2 separate regions of the Homo sapiens genome follow, and region 2 is linked to region 1. Evidence: promoter capture Hi-C in 16 types of primary human blood cells and fetal thymus (Javierre and others, 2016). All regions are on one chromosome and are shown on one strand. The core of a region is centred on a gene start or on the middle of the fragment in contact, and the rest is flanking DNA. Distances in the headings are between cores, read along the strand shown.

What was found. The method cuts DNA at HindIII sites, captures the fragments that hold promoters and counts their contacts. A CHiCAGO score of 5 or more calls a contact.
Region 2: a contact is called between a fragment that was not itself captured here and the fragment with the promoter of ITM2C in region 1, in 1 of 17 cell types (fetal thymus). The highest score is 7.1, in fetal thymus.

Annotation. Positions count from the first base shown.
Region 1 is chr2:230,863,213-230,866,197 of GRCh38, forward strand. ITM2C (integral membrane protein 2C) reads left to right here and starts at 1,730. Exons shown (of 6, transcript NM_030926.6): 1 at 1,730-1,933. The coding sequence starts at 1,814. RefSeq lists enhancers at 414-1,072, 1,731-2,389, 2,390-2,985 and silencers at 1,480-1,849, 1,950-2,039, 2,830-2,929. The HindIII fragment of the contact is 7,451 bases long and covers 1-2,985 here.
Region 2 is chr2:231,455,817-231,458,316 of GRCh38, forward strand. It overlaps NCL (nucleolin), which reads right to left. Exons shown (of 14, transcript NM_005381.3): 8 at 2,450-2,500; 9 at 1,827-1,984; 10 at 1,185-1,308; 11 at 815-948; 12 at 194-320. SNORA75 (small nucleolar RNA, H/ACA box 75) reads right to left here and starts at 120; the gene lies at 1-120. It overlaps SNORD20 (small nucleolar RNA, C/D box 20), which reads right to left and starts at 707; the gene lies at 628-707. The HindIII fragment of the contact is 697 bases long and covers 903-1,599 here.

The DNA of each region.
Region 1 (2,985 bases), core at 480-2,979:
CAATCTCAGGCATGTGGATGCTTCACCCAGGTGGCCCTGTCTTGCTGACCAGAGATTTGTGCCAAACCAGCTCTGCGACCCTGGGTTTAGTCATGCTACCTTCTATCACTATTAACATGAGGCTAATGTGTAGGTCACAGAGGCTGTGATGAAAATTAAATAATTGAATGCACGTGAAAGAATGCCACTCATAGAAGGTTTCACATGACCACATCCTTGGTGGCTGGGTTGTGTCTTGGGCATCTCTGTTTTCTGCCACAGAGCTTAACACAATGCTTGGCACACAGGGGTGCTTGGAAAACACTGAGTGAAGGAATGCATGTTGGGGGTGTGGCCTAAGCAAGACGTGGAGCTTGCCTTCTCCAGACACCAGGTTTCCCATGGGATCTGGAGCAGGTGATGAGCGGTAGTCCATAACACCTTCCTCTCTGGCTCTGTGCCAAACCAGATTCCTCCTCGTCTCCTCCAAACCATCTGTCTTCTTCCACCTCCCCATTCCCTCCCCCCAGTTCCCCAGGCTGGTGGCCTTAGCATCAGTTAGACTTTCTTCTTTCCCCACCTGTCTGTCCTCAAGGTTGCTAGGTTCATCCAAGATCTGAGCCAAGAGGTCCGGGTCTGGGACGTGGGCGCTAAGGGCCCAAGGCAGCTGCAAAAGACCTGAAAGGTGAGAAGAGAGATCAGTGGAGGACCCCGGACTGTCCTCAAGAAGCGGACGGACTCCCCTGCCCTCCACTGGCAGCCCAACAGCAGAACCAAAGCGGACCACTCAGCACAACCTGTGTGTGTTGCTGGGCGCTGTCCCTGGCCCAGTCTGGACCAGGAGCAAAGAGGAAAGATTCAGGGCGTTAGTGCCAAGAGCAGCCATCCCAGCAACAGAAGCCCCTGCTTCCCCAGTACCCGTGATACTTGGGAGGAGCAGAGTCTTGAGTGGAACCCGAGCCTCTGACACCCGCCCTGGGGGTCTTCCCTCCACTCTCGCCAGGGTCCTCCTGGATGAGTGAGACAAGGGCAGTTCAGGAGGTCACCCAATAACTGAGGTCGCAGCAACACGAAGGAGCCAGGGAGCAGGGGCGGCCTTCCCTTCTCCACTCCAGGCGGCTCCAGCGTGCACCCCAGGACCCCCCAGGAAGGTTTTGCAGGAATAAAGAATGAAGGCAGAAGCAAGATGGAGGATGAAGGAGGCGTGGATGGCTTCAGAAGGCAAGACGGAGGCAGCAGTTTGGCGCCTGTCTCAAAGCCTCCTCCCCGCGCCAAGGACAGGTCGGAGGAGGGGGGCGTGGGGACAGGTAGAGCGGAGGCTCCAGCGTTTCTAAAGGGGAAGACCTGAAGTGGGGCAGGAGAGACGGGTGAGTTGTCTGGAAGCTGCATTTGCCTGGCAAACACTGGGTTAACAAAGACTTGCGTTGCGGGGATGCTGGCCTTGGACAGGGAATGCGAAGGGATTATGCTACGGAGAACGGATCCGAGCGTGACGGCTGAATGAATGAGTGAGCGAGTGAGTGAGTGAGTGAGTGAGCGAGCGAGTGAGTGACTGTGCGAGCGAGCGGCAGAAGGAACTCCGACCCGCCCCAGGTGCGGAGCGGCGCGCCCGGCAGGGGTCACTGCGGGCCCCGCGGGCGGGAAGGGGGCGCAGGCGCGGCGGGCGCCGGGGCCCTCCCGCGGGGACGGGGCGGGGAGGGCTGGGGGTGGGGTTAGAGAGAGGGACGCGAGCGGGATCCAAACTTCCGGTGCCTGCAGAGCTCGGAGCGGCGGAGGCAGAGACCGAGGCTGCACCGGCAGAGGCTGCGGGGCGGACGCGCGGGCCGGCGCAGCCATGGTGAAGATTAGCTTCCAGCCCGCCGTGGCTGGCATCAAGGGCGACAAGGCTGACAAGGCGTCGGCGTCGGCCCCTGCGCCGGCCTCGGCCACCGAGATCCTGCTGACGCCGGCTAGGGTGAGAGGGTCTGGGGCTCAGGCGGTGGGGCGGGGGACCCAGGCTCACGACCCAGGCGCGCCCCGTCGGCCCTGGGGACTGCCCGAGGCGCGTCAGGGCCCCAGAGCCCGGGGTGGAGCAGGGTTGGGAAGTCTCGAATGGTTGCTTATCCCAGAATGAGGAGGGGGCTTAAGTCCCGTACTAAAGCGGCAGCCAAAAGCTGAAGTCCGAAGAGTGGGAGGCGTCTGGTTCTGGTCTTCAGGTGGAGAAGTGCTCGAGGTCTCTTCCAAAAGTGGGGGCCCCCTCGCCGCCTTATAGGGGGAGGGGGCTGGTCCGAAGAAGTTCGAGGAATGTTGGTGGGGGGGTACGCGTCTGGTTCCAATCAACTGGGAAAGCCGCGAGTCGAGTCCCCAGGTGGGGGATGGGAGGAGGGTTAGACGTAGTTTTTCCAAAGTAGGGCGGTGGGACCTGATTGGCTGGGGAATTGGGGGTGGGGGGGTCTGGTACCAACGAAGAGGGTGGGGCCGTTGATTTCCTCCGAAATTGGGGGCTGCGAGGGACAGAGGATGTGCTGCTGGCCTGCACCGGAATTGACAGACCAGAAAGTGATGAAATGGAAATCAGCCAGAACCGACGGCGCTGCGGCCTCTGGACGTCGGGGGTCCGAGGCCGGGTGCCCCCTTCCCACCCCACGCCCTGCCGTCTGGGCCTCCCTGCTCCCCTCTCTTTTCTCCATTCCCAGCCTCTCGCTGGGCTGTCCCCCGACCCCACGGGGAGGGCTCCCAACTGCCCCAGTGCCCTTGCATCCTGGGTCCCCGGGCTCTGTGCGCGTTCCCCCACCCCTGTCATCCCCCTCCCCTACCCCGGCTTCCTCCACTTTCCCTCTGGCCGGGGGGGAGAGAAGGCATTTCCGCCGTGGAAAACTGTCTGAGCTGCGTGCCTTGTGTCCGGGAAGGGCCCGCAGGGGGCAGAACGCGTGGCGGGCAGGGACAGGGAGGGAGGGAGAGCTGGCCCAGCCAGGTTTTATTGTGCCTGGCAAAGGTGTCTACGTGGGCGCCGCCCCCAGCGGTCTT
Region 2 (2,500 bases), core at 1-2,500, 590 kb after region 1:
GCTAAATATACCTCTGTAAAGACAGAAGGTAAAATAATGCTAGTTCTGTGAATTCTCTCTTCTTCTCGTGCGAATCCATAAACTGCCACTGATAGACAGAAAGGAGCTCAATGAGAAGACACATTAGACTCAAGGTCTGCACAGAACAAAAACCCCTTCAAGTGGAAGCAGCACTCACGCTTCCTTCCCTTACCCTTTGGAGGACCCAGTTTCCCGGTCAGTAACTATCCTTGCCCGAACGGAGCCGTCAAATGACTCCTTTAATGTCTCTTCAGTGGTATCCTCAGACAGGCCTTTGACAAACAGAGTTTTGGATGGCTCTGGGAAGGAAAAAAAAATGTGACTTTATGTGAAGTCACAGTTCGTAACACTGAATTTGCACAATGCCTAGTATGACTACTAGCCAAGAATACTTGTTATAGTGAAAAAGCAGTTAAAAGCAACTAAGCCAACTAGTCCTTAATTAAAGTAAAGGCTATTCTGGGTTTACATTTTTTAATTGCCATTGCATAGTTGATATCCTGCCCCAGATCTTCTATGGAAAGTGGGAGAAGCAACCCAAGCAGGTGGGGCCCAGTGGATGGGGCAGGAAATCATGGGCAAACTTGCTACTCTGAGTTGACACAGCTGGATCAGAACTTGACTATCTAGAGGAATTTTCTTGAGATTTCATCAATTATTTCTCAGGTAATCAGTCATCATATCCAGTTATTGTTCACTCAGTAGCAACAGGAAACACAGAATTTGTGCAAAAAATAAACAAAGCACCGAGAGTGCTACCCCCAACCACAGCACCCTAACCAGGTGAACTTACGGCTTCTGGCATTAGGTGATCCCCTGGGTCCTTGCAACTCCAGCCTGATTGCTCTGCCCTCAATTTCCCTTTTATTACAGGAATTTAAAGCTTCTTTAGCGTCTTCGAATGAAGCAAACTCTATAAATGCATACCTGAGGATGAACAGTTAATGCTTAGAGTAAGTTACCAGGCACATGCTCCTTCACTGTCACATGATGCTGCCAAGCCCCTTCTCTCAAGTTGGTACCTAAATGATGATCTTTATTTTACACTCATTTACGTAGCTAAAATTATTTGGCTTTTCTGACAGGATCACATGACCTTACGTTCCTTTAGACCTCTAAGACATATATAGCCTATAACTGATGATACAAAGGTATTATCTTACCCTTTAGATTTGCCATTTTGGTTCTGGGGTACTTTGATAAAAGTTGCTTTCTCAAATACTTCCTGAAGAGTTTCTTCTGTTGCACTGTAGGAGAGGTTGCTTAAAACCAGAGTTTTTGATTCACCTGCAAATAGAGATGCCACATTCCTAAGACTCTGAAACAGTGGTTCCCAGCTTCGGTCACAACAGTAATATCTTATTCCTAAGAATTTCAGTGCTTGAGTTAATATACAAATACTCATGACGTAAGCTAAATCCATTTCTGTTACTCAACATATTAAGTACCTAGTACGTGTTGCAATGTCCTGCTGGTTGTTCTTACATAGGCTGATGACTGGTCTGTTTTCCTAGAATCATCTGAGTTCAAAACGCACATGGTCAAGTCATTTAAAGTATAAAACATGCCTACAAAGGAAGCTTGATTTGCCTACTGTATTCCAATGCAAAATGATTTTAGAGCTCTCATTCAAGATTGGAAATTACTATTCCAAATAAGAGTATGACTTGGGGTATCATGTCCTTGATCTTCACCTACATTTGAGTAACTTTGATTAAAAAGTATTTATAAACTTATGAAATACAAAGACACAAAGGAGTTCCCTCCACCAATTCTGAAACCTTGTAACAAGCCTAATTTCTTACCACTCCAAGTGCTATTCTTTCCACCTCTATAGTCTTGATTTTGACCTTTCTCTCCAGTATAGTACAGGGAAATAGATCGCCCATCGATCTCTGTTCCCTGCTTTTCTTCAAAGGTTTTCTCTGCATCAGCTTCTGTCTTAAATTCAATATAAGCAATCCTGCAATGGAGGGAGAAGAACTCATGGTTTTTAAAACCATATTAACACAAATGCTTTTACCTCAGCAACACAGAACTTGCTTCAGATCTGAGTACAATAAATGCCCTTAGTTTTATGCCACTTTTCAATCAAAACTCGAGCTTCCCTCTTACTTCCCACTAGTTTTACAAATACTTGGAATTTTTTCATAGTAACCTCACCTCACTGAAAGAACTGCTACTACTTACAAAGTATTTATTGTAAGATAGGCACATTTCTTGCTTCTTTGTAAGTATTAGCTTGTCTTTTAAAATCACCCTATGAGTACATTATCCCCATGGTACAGATGGGTTACTGAGGCACAAACTTACAGGTTAAACTGTCCAAGATTACACGCCTAAGGAAATCAAACCAATATTTCTTTTATAAAGCAGGAAAGTGCATTAATGTTAATAAAACCCTTACATTTCAATAGACAGAACATACCCTTTACTTTTCCCATCCTTGCTGACTAATCTGATCTCCGCAGCATCTTCA